Linked DNA regions of Homo sapiens: region 2 is linked to region 1. Evidence: promoter capture Hi-C in 16 types of primary human blood cells and fetal thymus (Javierre and others, 2016). All regions are on one chromosome and are shown on one strand. The core of a region is centred on a gene start or on the middle of the fragment in contact, and the rest is flanking DNA. Distances in the headings are between cores, read along the strand shown.

Region 1 (7,823 bases), core at 2,281-4,780:
AAGATCAAATGAGCCTCGGAGGTCAAGGCTGCACTGAATTGTGATCTCTCCATTGCACTCCAGCCTGGGCGACAGAGCGAGACCCTGTCTCAAAAAAAGAAAAAGAAAAGAAAAGTTCCCACTATTAGCTTATTGACCCAAGTGAAAACTTCAGCACACATAGGATATTCAACGGTGGGGATATTCTGTGTCTTTTAAAATACAAAGTGGTATCCTGCAGAATGGGTGGAAGAGGGAGACCTGTGAAGAGACCCATCTTTTTTTTTTTTTTTTGAGGCGGAGTTTTGCTCTTGTCACCCAGGCTGGAATGCAGTGGCACGATCTTGGCTCAGTGCAACCTCCGCCTCCCGTGTTCAAGTGATTTCTCCTGCCTCAGCCTCCTGAGTAGCTGGGACTACAGGCGCCTGCCACCACATCAAGCTAATTTTTTGTATTTTTAGTAGAGACAGGGTTTCATCATGTTGGCCAGCCTGGTCTCAAACTCCGATCTCAGGTGATACACCCGACTCAGCCTCCCAAAGTGCAGGGATTACAGGTGTGAGCCACCACGCCCGGCCAAAGAGACCCACCTTAAAGTCCAGGGAGAAGACACAATTGGCTTCATGGGCATGTGACCTCTGCAGTCACACAGGACCCTGCATGTTTTGTTTTCTGTTCTTTGTTTTTTTGAGACACCGTTTCACTCTGTCACCCAGGCTGGAGTGCAGTGGCACAATCTCAGCTCACTGCAACCTCCATCTCCTGGGTTCAAGCAATTCTCATGCCTCAACCTCCCAAGTAGCTGGGATTGCAGGCACATGCCACCACGCCCAGCTAATTTTTGTATTTTTTTAATTTTTATTTTTTGAGATGGAGTCTCACTCTGTCACTAGGCTGGAGTACAGTGGCGTGACCTTGGATCACTGCAATCTCCGTCTCCTGGGTTCAAGCGATTCCCCTGCCCCAACCTCCCTAGTAGCTGGGATTACAGGCATGCACCACCACGCCTGGATAATTTTTTGTATTTTAGTAGAGATGGGGTTTCACCATGTTGGACAGGATGGTCTCGATCTCCTGATTATCTGCCCGCCTTGGCCTCCCAAAGTGCTGGGATTACAGGTATAAGCCACCACGCCTGGCCTAATTATTGTATTTTTAGTAGAGATGGGGTTTTGCCATGTTGGCTAGGTTGATCTTGAACTCCTGACCTTAAGTGATCCGCCTGCCTTGGCCTCCCAGAGTCCTGGGATTATAGCGTAAGCCACAGCGCCCGGCCCCCTGCATGTTCTTGACTTCACGCTCTGCTGTGTTGCCATCTTGAAATTCTTAATTTTTTTTTTTTTTTTAGATGGAGTTTTGCTCTTGTTGCCCCAGGCTGGAGTGCAGTGGGGTGATCTCAGCTCACCACAACCTCTGCCTCCTGGGTTCAAGCAATTCTCCCACTTCAGCCTCCTGAGTAGCTGCGAATTACAGGCATGTGCCACCACACCTATCTAATTATTTTTTGTATTTTTAGTAGAGACAGGGTTTTTCCATGTTGGTCAGGCTGGTCTCGAACGCCTGACCTTGTCATCTGGCCAGGCCTCCCAAGTGCTGGGATTATAGGCATGAGCCACTGCGTCTGGCCGAAATTCTTAATTTTTTAACAAGAAGTGCTGCATCTTCATTTTGTGCTGGGCCCCCCAAACTATGTAGCCAGTCCTGGAAGAAAACAGTGACACATTTATTTGCATGCTTACTATGTGAGCAGCAAACAAGTGACAGTGCTGGAACCGGGACCCAGGCCGTTTGGGTCCAAAACCACGGGTCCTAACCTACATCTTACCATACTTCCTGTCTCTCGAATCAAGAGGGCTAGTGAGAGTGGAGAGGAAGGGAAAGAATAAGAACCTTCTGTTTCTTCCACCAGAACACTCTTCACTCCCCTGCCTCTCCTTCCTTCCTATTGTCGTCTCAGTATCAGTTTCGTTTCCTCAAAGAGGTGTTTCCTGGTCCCCAAACCTAAATTATGCCCCTCTCATTCTCTCTTTTCTCCCTTAGTATTTTATTTATTATTTATTTATTTTGACAGAGTTTCGCTTTTGTCGCCTAGGCTAAAGTGCAATAGCATGGTCTTGGCTCACTGCAACCTCCACCTCCCGGGTTCAAGCGATTCTCCTGCCTCAACCTCCTGAGTAGCTGGGATTACAGGTGCCTGATACCATCCCTGCCTAATTTTTGTATTTTTAGTAGAGATGGGGTTTCACCACGTTGGCCAGGCTGGTCTCGAACTCCTGAACTCAGGTGATCCACTCACTTTTGGGAGGCCGATCTCCACTCAGGTGGAGGTTGCAGTGAGCTGATTCAGCCTCCCAAAGTGCTGAAATTACAGGTGTGAGCCACCGTGCCACGTTTCTTCTTTAATATTCTTTAGAGTATTCATCAGAACTTTGCGTATTTATTTGTATATTTCCTTGTTTTAATGACAATCCCTCACTAGACTGTGTGCTCAATGAGGGCAGAGATTTTGTCGGGTTTTGTTCCCTTATCCCCAGCAGAGAACCTGGCACATAGTGGGTATTTCATAAATGTTAGTTGGAAAGTACAGTTTATAGAATGTAGTGACAGATCAGATGTAATTGTAGGGAAGCCTGGAGGATGACCTAGGAAATTCCACTTGGGTGATGCTAATTGCCAAGGTGAATATAGGAAGTTAGGAGTGGGACAGGAATGATTATGTGGATTTGAGATGTGTCCAGTTCGAGGGCTTTTGGGGGTGGCTTGGAGAAGGCAATCTTCTGCTGGGAAACTTCTGACTCTGTCCCTACTGCAGCCCAGGGTAGGGGCTCCCTACCTCCACCTGGGCAGATCTCTGCCATCACCCATCTCACTGGCGTGCTCTTGGGAGCCTATCTGTTCCCTGGGCGGTGCAGCTCTACGGGATTTGGAACAGTGTTGCAGGTCTCATCTCTGGCTCGCAGGGCCCCCAGGGGTGTGTATGCAGTCAGGGCTCAATAAATGCCAGTAGACGGAAAGAAGGAAGGCGAAAAATGTGGCCAGACACTCAGGGGAGAGGCTGGGGTGAGGAGCAGATCTGGGAACGTAAATAGAACTAGAAGTCCAAGTTGGAACCCTGGAGCCCTAGAGACAGGGTGGACAAAAAAGTGTTCCAAGCCAGGAGGCCAGGCACAGGGCTAAGCGCTTTATTCACATGACTGCATTTCATCTTCATATCTACACTAAAGAGGCATAATTATTCCTACTTTGTTCATGAGAAAACAGGTCCAGAGAGGTGACGTGATTTGCCCAAGGTCACACAGCGAGTGAGCAGCAAAGTCTGGATTTGACTCAGGGCTGTTGTCCCCTAAGCCCGCACGCACTCTTCCACTTCACTCCCTGCCTCTCCAACCCTCCACCTCCCTATCCCTCTCCCCTCCCCTCCGGCGGCTCCCCCGCCCCACCCCTCTGCCGTTCCCCCCAACTCCCTCCCTGTCGGTGGCGGCGGCGGAGCCACGTGGTGGGGCCGGGAAGCCGCGGCCGACGAGAGCCCGGGCGACTGCCCCAGCTGGGCAGTGCTGCTCTGCGCTGCGCCGCGCTCGGGGCTCGCTCTCCTTGCTCCGCGCTCCCCGCCAGCCGCCCCGGGGCAGGAGGCGCGCCTGACGGACGGCCCGCTAGACAAAGGAGGCGCGGCTCGGCGGGGCCAGCGCGCGGACGGACGGACCATGGACTCGGAGCGCGGGCGGCCGGCCCCAGCCTTGGGGACCGGACACTCCCGGGCCCGGCCCTAGGCGCCCGGCCCCGCCGCCCGGCGCGCCCAGCGGGGAGGACGTGGAGCCCGCGCGGCGCGAGCAGGCGGCGGCCGCGGAGCAAGAAGGGCGCCGCGGCGTGCGGCCCGCGCAGCCCCCGGAGCCATGGGCAAGTGCAGCGGGCGCTGCACGCTGGTCGCCTTCTGCTGCCTGCAGCTGGTAAGCGTCGCGTGCCCAGGCAGTCGGGGCAGGGTGGGGCGCGGCGGGGCGCGGTCCCAGGGCGTGCGGGTGGGGTTGCGTGTGTCTCTGTGTGTGTGTCTGGTGCGTGTGCCCGGGCGGGGGGTGGTCTGGAGTCTCGGAGCGGTCGGGCGGAGCCTGCTCCCGCTGGCCGGGCTGTCTCTTTGTGTGCGCTTCTCGCTGCTGTGCCCGGCGCTCCTCCGGTCCCCAAGTGCGTCCTGTGCGCGAGTCCCCGGCCCGCCCGCACTGTACAAGTGGCCTCCTGTTGGGGGATGCGCTGTGGGACGGTGGCTTGCTGGGACTGGGGGTGTGTCTGAGGCTGATCTGTGGATCCGTTGAGGTCCTGCTGTGTGTTTCCCTCTAGATCCCTCGTTTGCATGGGTCTCTCCCTTCCTCTGGGTCTCTGCCTCTGATCACCACCCCTGTGTGAGCGTTTCTCACAAAGTCTCTGCTCCGGCGTGTGTCTCTCAGGGTTTCTCTTTGGTGTGTCTCTAAATCGCTGACCATTTCTGGCCCATGTTCATCTGTGTTCTGGGATCTTAGACTCCAAGAACCCTCCAATCCTTTGTGTTGTTTCTGCCTCCCTTCACCTTCCTGACCGGGCAGTCCTGGGAAAGGAGAGCCACCTCCCTGGAGAGGGTCACCAGGAGCTGCCAGATCCTGGGCCAGCCTGACCCAGCCTGGACCACACTTCCTGCTTTGGTCTGGCCGCTGTGGCCATGGGGGTTCCATCAGTCATCAGTTCCACCCACCAGAGCAGCTCCTCTGCCGGGGCCAGCAACAGTGGGGATGGGGACACTTGGGTGCCCTAGGGAGGACCAGAGCATCTGAGGACACTGTGCCTAGCCCCAGCATAGGGAACTCAGGTTCTTGTCTCAGGGAGGAGTGACTGTAGTGGACTAGAAGAAACAGCACTGCCCTTCAAATCAGGCCCTGGCAGGGGAATTTGGGAGGGTGGTTAAGGAGAGGCAGGGGTCTCCTACCTACCCTAGAGCTGAGATTGAACAACTAGGGAGGTTGAAGCTGTGCTTCTCCTCTAGGCAGAGGTGCATGGGGACCTCCATCGCCGAACCCAGGTCTGAGAGTGGGCAGCGAGGAGCCTGAGCCCCCCTCATGCTGGACTCCTTGTTCTGGGTTTCCACTCTTGCCTGCATCCATCACGCCCTCCCCACCACAGGAGCCAATGATAATGTAGAGTGAAGTTTTGAGCCTGGACATGCAGACCTCCTCATTCGTCTTGCTTCTCTCCTCCTGGGGACACCAGCTTCAAACATGCCATCCACAGACCTGGCCTGGGCAGTGGTGGAAACAGCCCTAGCTCTGGAGATTGTAGCCCTGCTCCCAGCTGTGGGAGACTGGACAAGTGACTTCCCCCCACTGGCCGGCCTCAGTCTTCTTATCTGTAAAATGATTATCCCTGAGGATTGCAGAGGGAATTAATTAAGATCAGGTGGAATGGGAACTCCAGAAGGGCAGAGATTGTCTGTTTTTCTTTATCTACTTTGAGGAACATGAAATGCCAAGAAATGTTTAAACCTTTCAGAGGATTCTTCTGTGTTTGTTAATTTTTTAATTTTAAACTAGGGGTTTTTTTTAATTAGAAAAGTAATATACATATATTGTAAAAAATAAATACATACATAATCAAACAGGACAGATAAATAAAAAGTAAGTTTTCTAGGCCAGGCATCGTGGCTTATGCCTGTAACCCCAGCACTTTGGGAGGGCGAGATGGGCAGATCACCTGAGGTCAGGGGTTCGAGACCAGCCTGGCCAACATGAAGAAACCCCATCACTGCTGAAAATACAAAAATTAGGGGTGGTGGCACGCATCTGTAATCCCAGCTACTCGAGAGGCTGAGACATGAGAATCACTTGAACCCAGGAGGCGGAGGTTACAGTGAGATGAGATCACGCCGCTGCACTCCAGCCTGGACGACAGAGTGAAACTGTGTCTCAAAAAAAAAAAAAAAGTTTTCTTCTCTCTATAACTAGACCCCTCCCCAAAGGTGAACCTGTTAGCAGTTTGTCCCATGCTCATTCTCTGTTGGCGATAATAACGGTTAGCTTTGGAGAGCCCTTGACTAAGTGTCAGGTACTCTTGGAAGCACTTTTCCAGGTATTAACTCATTTAATCCTAACAGCCCTATGAAGTAACTTGTCCAGAATTCTACAGGAACTAGGACCCAGGCTTTGTTTTGGGGGTTTTGTTTTTGTTTTTGTTTGAGACATGGGCTCACTCTGTCATCCAGGACAGAGTGCAGTGGTGCAATCATAGCTCACTACAGCCTTGACCTCCCAGGCTCAAACAATCCTCCCACCTCAGCCTCCTGAGTACCTGGGACTACGGGGGCACACCACCATGCCTAGCTAATTTTTTTGTGTTTTAGAGGTGGGTCTCACTCTTGTTGCCCAGGCTGGTCTCAAACTCCTGTGGTCAAGCCATCCTCCCACTTCAGCCTCCCAAGTGCTGGGATTATAGGCATGAGCCACCACATCCAGCCAGGATCCAGGCTTTGAATCCAGGCAGTTGGCCAGGTCCTCTGTTGCCTTCTTAATTATAAAATAAGTAGTTCTGGCCCTGGTAAGTCTGGGGCCCCATGGAAGGAGCTCATGGCTCTAGAGAGAAATGAAGGTGGTAGAGTGTCTCTCTGCCTCCCACTTCCCTTCCTCCATAGTTCTCCCTTGCTAAGCTAACCCCACTCTTCCACTTAGAGGAGCTCACCAGCACTAGAGGCTTGAGTTAGATGAGACCTGGGTGGCATTCTGGTTTCTCCCACATCCCGGCTGGGTGGCTTTGGGCAGCTTGTGAAGGTTGCACAAGATCATTTGCGGGAGGAACTTGAAAATTGCTCTCTTGGCTCTGTTGCACTATCTGGGCTCATTGCAGAGTGGGCCCTCCAGTTGTCACTAACCTCCATGAGCCCCTACTGCCTGATAGCTTCCATAATGTGCCCCGGGATGTTGGAATTCACCAGCCTGAGGGGAGAAGGGAGTCTTGGTTTTCTCATCCAAGGGACTGAAGGGAAAAAAGAGGCTGTTAAATATCTTTCAGCTGAAAACTTAGGAGGAACTGTGTCATTTTTCTTTCTCAAATGGAGTTTAATCGTTACAATGAATCAGGCCAATTCGAAACATTCTTCCTCAGTTGGGATAGATGTGATTTGGGTGAGGGAGTGAGGTGTGAGGGTGCCATGGGGTTTAAGGGAAGCAGGTAGGGACTGTGCCTTTCAGATGGATAAGTGTAGGATAGTAGTTAAGGCTCTGAAGTTTGACAGGACAGACCTGGCTTTTAGACCTGGTTCTGTCACTTCCTGGCTATGCAATTTTGGGCAAGTTGCTTACCGTCTCTGAGCCACATAGTTTTGTCATCTGTTAAATAGAGAGAATATAAAACAGTTCCTAATCCTTAGGGTTGTTGTGAGGACTCAGTCCATATAATGAATTTAGCACTCTGGCAGGTACAGAGTGAGTACTCATTAAACTGTAGCTTATTGTTATTATCTTAATGATTCATATCATGGGATGTGTCTGTGGCACTGTAGCCCAAACATATCCAGGTGACCCCCTGCACTGTCCTTTGTGGACTGTCCTTTGTGGGAAGTAGCAGGTAGTTGGGCACTGAGCTGAGAGGCAAAAGACCTGGATTTAAGCCTGGCTCTGCTTCTGACATCCTGCAATTTGGGGCAAGTCTCTTCCACACTCTAGGCTTTGGTTTTTCCATCTGTAAAATGGGAGGCATTATTGGTCTGGCTCGCTGGGATCCTGCCAGCTGTACTTGTCAGGAACTCAGGGTGGTGCCTGGACTGGCATGTTTTGTTTATTTATTGTTTATTTTTTAGAGATAGGCGTCTCACTGTGTTGCCCAGGCTGGAGTGCAGT
Region 2 (7,823 bases), core at 2,287-4,786, 300 kb before region 1:
CCTCACTTCATGGGGGGGAAACTGAGGCTCTGACCACACTGCTAGTATGTGGCAGAGCCTGGATTTGTTCCAAAAGCCAGAGCTCTCACCACTAGAGAAGGCACCTATAGTTCATCCAAACCCTTTTCTAGAACAACGCAGGGGCCACTAACTGAATGAAATGAGGACATGTAGGTGCCCATGGAGGGGAAGACCAGACAACCGCCTATGTTCAGCTTGGGCAGCTGTACTTCCTTCAAGAAGAGCCTGTCAAAGGTGTTTCACATGTGGCCATAGAGGGTGCAAGGGAAGAGGGGTGGCACAGAGAAGATCTCCTGCAGAACCCCACTGCCTGGGCACAAGTGGGGAAACAGCAGCGAGATCACAATACTTCAAACATTTTTATTATTGGTCAGGCGCGGTGGCTCATGCCTGTAATTCCAACACTTTGGGAGGCCGAGGCAGGTGGATCACTTGAGGTCAGGAGTTCGAGGCCATTTCTCTATTAAAAATACAAAAATTAGCCGAGTGTGGTGGTGGGTGCCTGTAATCCCAGCTACTCAGGAGGCTGAGGCACAAGAATCTCTTGAACCCAGGAGGCAGAGGTTGCAGTCAGCCGAGATCACACCACTGCACTCCAGCCTGGGCGAGAGAGCTAGAATCCATTTCAGAAAAAAAAAACACCTTTTTTTTTCATTGTTATTATGTCTGTGTTGGTGTTGGTGATCTATAATCAGTGATCTTGGATGTTACTATTGTAAAAGTTTGGGGGTGCCATAAACCACACCCATACAAGATGGCAAACTTAATAAATACTGTGTGTGTTCTGACTGCTCCACTGACCAGCTATTCCCCCATCACTCTCATCCTGAGGCCTCCCTGTTCCCAAAGATACAACAATATTGAAATTAGGTCAATTAATAACCCTACAATGGCCTCTATGTGTTCAAATGAAAGGAGGAATTGCATGCCTCTCATTTTAAATTAAAAGCTAGAATTGATTAAGCTTAGCGAGGAAGACCTATCAAAAGCCAAGAGAGACCGAAAGCTGGGTCCCTTGCACCAGTTAGCCAAGTTGAGAATGCAAAGGAAAAGTTCTTGAAGGAAATTGAAAGTGCTACTCCGGTGAACACATAAGTGGCAAGAAGGCAAAACAGCCTTATTGCTGATATGGAGAAAGTTTGAGTGGTCTGGATAGAAGGTCAAATTAACCACAGCATTCCCTTGAGCCAAAGCTTAATCCAGAGCAACGCCCTAACTCTTGTCAATTCTATGAAGGCTGAGAGAGGTGAGGAAGCTTCAGAAGAAAAGTTGGAAGCTAGCAGGGGTTGGTTCATGAGGTTTAATGAAAGAAACCATCTGCATAACTTAAAAGGGCAAGTGAAGCAGTAAATGCTGATATAAAAGTTGCAGCACGTCATCCAGAAGATCTAGCTAAGATCATTGATGAAGGTTGCTACACTAAACAACAGATTTTCAGTGTAGGCAAAACAGCCTTCTATTGGAACAGGATGTTATCTAGAACTTTCATCACTAGAGAGAAGTCAATGCCTGGCTTCAAAGCTTCAAATAACTAAATGACCCTCTTGTTAGGGGCTAATGTAGTTGGTGACTTTAAGTGGAAGCCAATGCTAGTTTATTATTCCAAAAATCCTAGGCCCTTAAGAATTATGCTAAATCTACTCTGCCTATGCTGTATAAATGCAACAACAAAGCCTGATGACAGCACATCTATTTACAGCATGGTTGACTGAATATTTTATGTCCACTGTTGAGACCTACTACTCAGAAAAAAAAAGATTCCCTTAAAAATATTACAGCTCATTGACAATGCACCTGGTTACTCAAGAGTCCTGATGGAGATGTACAAAGAGATTAAGTTGTTTTCATGCCTGCTAACACAGCATCCATTCTGCAGCCCATAGATTAAGGAGTCATTTCAACTTTCAAGTCTTATTATTTAAGAAATACAATTTGTAAGGCTATAGCTGCTACAGAGAGATCCTCTGATGGATCTGGGCAAAGCAAATTGGAAACATTCTAGAAAGGAGTCACCATTCTTGTGCCGTTAAGGACATTTGTGATTCCAGGGAAGAGGTCAAAATATCAAGATTAACAGGAGTTTGAAAGAAGTTGACTTTAACCCTCAAGGATGCCTTTGAAGTGTTAAAGACTTCAGTGGGAGAAGTCACTGCAGATGTGGTGAAAATAGCAAAAGAACTAGAATTAGGAGTGGAACCCGGACAAGTGACTGAATTGCTGCAATCATGCCTGGACCGGAGGGGCAAAAGGAAAAGCGGTATTTCCCAAGCCAGGTTCGGACGCCACTCTGCAGAAGCTGGAACCATGAAGACATAGCCGCTACCTAAGAAGCCACCTGGGACAGAGAGGAGAGGGCTTTTTCCTTGTCTTCCCAGTCTCCTGTCAGTGGTCCCCAGCAGCTGCTCTCTGCTGGAAGCCAGTGCTCCTGCAGGATAGAACTAAGTGTTGGGGGGCAGAGAGTGGGTCTAGGGGCAACCAGGCCCAGGAGGAGCAAAGGCAGTCAGCGAAGGCTTCTCTGAGGTGGGGACATTTAACTCAGTCCTGAAGGATGAGGAAGCATCAGGCAGATTAGACACCAGGGGAGAGCATTCCAGGCATAGGTAACGGCTAGCAGTGTGAAGGCTCGGAGGCGGGAACAAGCCTAGCATCAGGAGGAACAGAAAGGAGTGTAGTGGGTGGAAGAAGGTAGGTGGGAATTTCCTAGGCTCCAAAACCGATGTATGCTACATGTCAAATATTGTCCTGATATTCCAGATGTGAAAGTGGAGGGGCAGAGTGTGGTTTCCAGAACTCAAAGAACCCTTCTGATAAGATGACCTTATATGCAGATCTGATCTAGACCATGCTGGACGCTTGGAGACCGAAAGGCATTCTGTGTCTTACCAGCCTGTCTTTCCTAGCACCTACACAAGCCGGAAAGCTGCTTCTGGCCCATTTCCCAGTCTGTGCAGCTGTATCCACCACCCTGCTCCTCCCTCCCTGTATGGTTTGCATGTTTTGCCACCTCCAAATCTCATGTTGAAATGTGACCTCCAATGTTGGAGGTGGGGCCTAGTGGGAGGTGTTTGGGTCATGTGGGCGCACCCCTCATGAATGTCATGGTGCTGTCCTTGAAGTAATGAGTGAGTTCTCACTCTGTGAGTCCATACGAGATCTGGTTGTTTAGAGGAGCCTGAAGCACCCCCTCCTCTGTCTTGCTCCCTCTCTTGCCATGTGATGCCGGCTTCCCCTTTGCCTTCAGCCATGAGTGGAAGCTTCCTGAGTCCTCACCAGAAGCAGATGTTGGCACCATGCTTCTTGTACAGCTTGCAGAACCATAGGTCAAATAAACCTCTTCTCTTTATAAATCACCCAGTCTCAGGTATTCCTTTGTAGCAACGCAAAACAGACTAATACACTTCCCCTCCAAAGCTTCAGAGGCTCACTTTGCAGGAACACTCTTGTATTACCTGGAAAGATGATCAGACTCTGCTTCCTTTTGCTTGTCAGAGTCAGATTCCAAGGTGAACCAGCTCAACTGCTGAGGCCTCAAAACACACAGGAAATAAAAGGAGAAGAAGAAAACCAAAGAATAAAACTGTTTTATCAAAACTCAGTATGTGATTGGAAATAAAGCTTTGATAAATCACTTGGAGAGAGGTGATGCTCAGGTACTAATGTCTCATGGTCCCTCTGGCTTTAGGAGAGGATGGATCTGGTAATCTGCAGGGCTTTTGCTTTGCTGAAGAAATCCTGCATGTCTGGGCAGAGAAACCTTGCTGAGGACAGAAAAGAGAGGTCCAGTGCTGTTAGCACAGGCCCAGCCATCTACCCTCCCTCTACATACCTCCATCTGAATGAATGTTGAATAAATACTTCAGGAATAACTGTTTATTGCTGGGACAACTGGGTTTCCACATGTGAAAGAATGAATCTGGACTCCTACCTCACACCGTATGCAAAAGATAACTCAAAATGAACCAAGACCTAAATGTAAGAGCTAAAAGCATAAAACTCTTAGAAGACAGCACAAGAGTATGTCATTATGACTTTGGGTTAGGCAGGGGTTTCTTAGATATGGCTTCTTATTTATTTATTTATTTATTGGAGATGGAGTCTCACTCTGCCTCCAGGCAGGAGTGCAATGGCTCAATCTCGGCTCACTGCAACCTCTGACTCCCTGGTTCAAGCGATTCTCCTGCCTCAGCCTCCTGAGTAGCTGGGATTACAGGCACACACCATCACATCCAACTCACTTTTGTATTTTTAGTAGAGATGGGGTTTCACCATGTTGTCCAGGACGGTCTCGATCTCCTGACCATGTGATCTACCTGCCTCGGCTTCCCGAAGTGCTGGGATTACAGGCGTGAGCCACCATGCCTGGCTGATATGATTTCTTAAACACCTAAAGAAATGAGGAGATACCAGGCGTGGTGGCTCACGCCTGTAATCCCAGCACTTTGGGAGGCCAAGGCAGGTGGATCACCTGAGGTCAGGAGTTTGAGACCAGCCTGACCAACATGGAGAAACCCTGTCTCTACTAAAAATACAAAATTAGCCAGGCATGGTGGCTCATGCCTGTAATCCCAGCTACTTGGGAGGCTGGGGCAGGAGAATCCCTTGAACCCGGGAGATGGAGGTTGCAGTGAGCCGAGATCGTGCCATTGCACTCCAACCTGGGCAACAAGAGTGAAACTCCATCTCAAAAAAAAAAAAAAAAAAAAAGAAAAGAAAAGAAAAGAAATGAGGAGAGAAAATGGGTATAAGATTTCTTTCCTAGGGTGACAAAAACATCAAACATTAGAGTGTGGTGATGATTGCACAACTCTGTGAAGATACTAAAAGTCATTTAATTGTACATAATTTTCCCAACTTTATTGAGGTATACATGACAAATAGAATTATATAAATTTAAGGTATAGAATGTAGATTCCACAGATAATGTGAGAATCACTGTATGTTTCTCACATAGAAGTGAGATTATATAGTACTTGTCTTTCTCTGTCTGACATATTTCACTTAGCATAATGGCCTCAAGGTTCTATGTTGTCGCAAATGACAGGGCTTCCTTCTTTTTTATAATGAATAATATTTCATTGACTGTAGGCTGGGCATGGTGGCTCATTCCTGTAATTCCAGCACTCTGGAAGGCTGAGGTGGGCAGATTGCTTGAGCCCAGGAGTTCGAGACCAGCCTGGGCAACAAGGTGAAACGCCATCTCCATGAAAAATAAAAAAGATTAGCTAGGAGTGGTGTCACATGCCTGTAGTCCCAGCTACTAGAGAGGCTGAGGTGGGAGGATCTCTTGAGCCCAGGAGGTCAAGGCTGCAGTGAGCTGTGATTGTGCCACTGCACTCCAGCCTGGGTGACAGAAGGAGACCCTGTCTCAAAAAAAAGAAAAAAAAATCCATTGATTATACATCCATATAATTTTTTCTTTTTACACAGTAGTTCCTGCATGGAGCTTGGTGTCTGGCATACAAGTCTCTTCATAAACATTTGTTAAATCAGAGGTTAGGTGAACGACAGCATTACTGTCTTCCTGAACTTGGGCAAGTGATTTAACCCGTCAGTGCTTCACTTTCCTTTTCTATAATGACTTCTTAAAAAAATGAAATAATTTCCATCTGTCTCAGCTAATACTTTTGTAAAATACCGTGAAATCAGGCAGGGGAGTGGGGCAGAGTGGCCTTGCAATGGTCGGGGTAGGGCTGCTGAGCTGAGGGCTAGCTGGGTGAGGCAGCTGAGTGTGAGGTAAGAAAGAAGGAGCGATCCTCCAAGGTTTATATAAAATTGGTCATAGGATAACAACTTCTGAGATCCCAGCAGGAGTCCTAACATCTAGCAGCTTGACCACCAGGACACCGGCCTCCTAAAACTAATCCCAACAAGCACCTGTAAAGTCTTCACAGGTGAAGCCTACCTTTTCAGATAGTCCAACAGCTAAATCACCAGTTCCCAAGGCCATTTGCATCACCCATGGAAAACACCGGATCCTTATACACCAGATGTTCTTGACAGCTCATCCCATCATTCCCCCTGCACAAAAGCTGCTATACCAGCGGACAACCACAACAACTACCGAGCTTCTTTTTGTAGGTATAGTATCACTGCCAGCAAAACAGCACAAAATGTGTCTCTTCACAGTATCACTATCAATTGGGACCATGCTAGGAAAATCAGCTTGCCTGGATGAGGACCCCTTTTCTTCTTGGGTTACCAGGATTTGAAGGAGATACTCTGACCTGTGCCACTGGTAAGTGACTCACACTTTTACATCCTGAACTGGTCCTGGAAACTGAGATGTCTTCTATGTAAGTGAAGAATATACAACATAGTCTTGAAGAATTGCGCAGTGGTGTGGGCCGCAAGCATACTTCATGTGTGTAATGGACTGAAAGAAAAAATAGGCCGGGCGCAGTGGGTCACGCCTGTAATCCCCGCACTTTGGGAGGCTGAGGTGGGTAGGTCACCTGAGGTCAGGAGTTCGAGACCAGCTTGAGCAACATGGAGAAACCCCGTCTCTACTAAAAATACAAACTTAGCTGGATGTGGTGGCACATGCCTGTAATCCCAGCTACTGTGGAAGCTGAGGTAGGAGAATTGTTTGAACCCAGGAGGCGGAGGTTGCAGTGAGCCAAGATCATGCCATTGCACTCCAGCCTGGGCAACAAGAGTGAAACTCCGTATCAAAAAAAAAAAGAACACTTCAGCTCTACTCTCTTAACAAATTTCAAGAGTACAATATGATATTGTTAATCGTAGTTGCTGTGTTGTACATTAGCTCTTTATGGCTTATCTTGTGCAGCTGAAAGATTGTGCCCTTTGACCAATATCTCCCCATTTCCCCTACTCCCCACCATTCTACTCTTGCTTCTATGAGTTCAACTTCGTTCAGGTTCCACATATAAGATCATGCAAAATCTGTCTGTCAGAAAAAGAAAAATCTGAAAGAAAAAGTTTAAAAATCCACCCAAGATGGTTGCAGCCTGGACATTAAGTAATAGAAAGTAAGCCTATGAACTAAAGCTGAAGTCTCACCTGCAAGGCTGGCATTTGTCAAAATATTTCACTGGCATTACTGACTGTAACCTTGATTATCACATGAAGCACAAAAGCAGGATAGAATCAAATATCCCTCACCAGACCTTAAGACACCTATGTAATCATTAACTTTTTACCCTATATACATTAACTGCACCTTTGCTTTATCTTATATATAATGTCACCAAACACCAATCAAAATTGTAAGAACACCACCTTTGCTCCACTGACCCTTCTCCCATTTTCTGTTTTTCTTTTCCTTTTTTTTTTTTTTTTTTTTTTTTTGAGACAGAGTCTCGCTCTGTCGCCCAGGCTGGAGTGCAGTGGCGTGATCTTGGCTCACTGCAACCTCGGCCTCCCGGGTTCATGCCATTCTCCTGCCTCAGCCTCCCGAGTAGCTGGGACTACAGGTGCCCGCCACCACGCCCGGCTATTTTTTATTATTTTTTTTTTTATTTTTAGTAGAGATGGGGTTTCACCATGTTAGCCAGGATGGTCTCAATCTCCTGACCTCGTGATCCGCCCGCCTCGGCCTCCCAAAGTGCTGGGATTACAGGCGTGAGCCACCGCGCCTGGCCGTGCTTCTCCCATTTTCTATGTAGAAAACATACACATACTGTGCCTCGTGGAACCCACCACAGGATGCATTCTGGGTTTGTACTGAGTCTGTGTTCCCGGGCTATAGTCCTCAAACTTGTCTCAGAATAACATTAACTTTGATTTAAGTTTATAGTGCCTATTCTTTCACCTTTTGGGTCAACAGATAGCATACTCGGCAG

What was found. The method cuts DNA at HindIII sites, captures the fragments that hold promoters and counts their contacts. A CHiCAGO score of 5 or more calls a contact.
Region 2: a fragment that was not itself captured here is called in contact with the fragment with the promoter of NKAIN1 in region 1 in 1 of 17 cell types (naive B cells); the score reaches 5.0 in naive B cells.

What each region holds. Positions count from the first base shown.
Region 1 is chr1:31,235,594-31,243,416 of GRCh38, reverse strand. NKAIN1 (sodium/potassium transporting ATPase interacting 1) reads left to right here and starts at 3,530. Exons shown (of 7, transcript NM_024522.3): 1 at 3,530-3,923. The coding sequence starts at 3,870. The HindIII fragment of the contact is 17,944 bases long and covers 1-7,823 here.
Region 2 is chr1:31,536,533-31,544,355 of GRCh38, reverse strand. No RefSeq gene overlaps it. Among named protein-coding and RNA genes, the nearest start is that of LINC01226, 22 kb to the right of the region's middle. The HindIII fragment of the contact is 204 bases long and covers 3,435-3,638 here.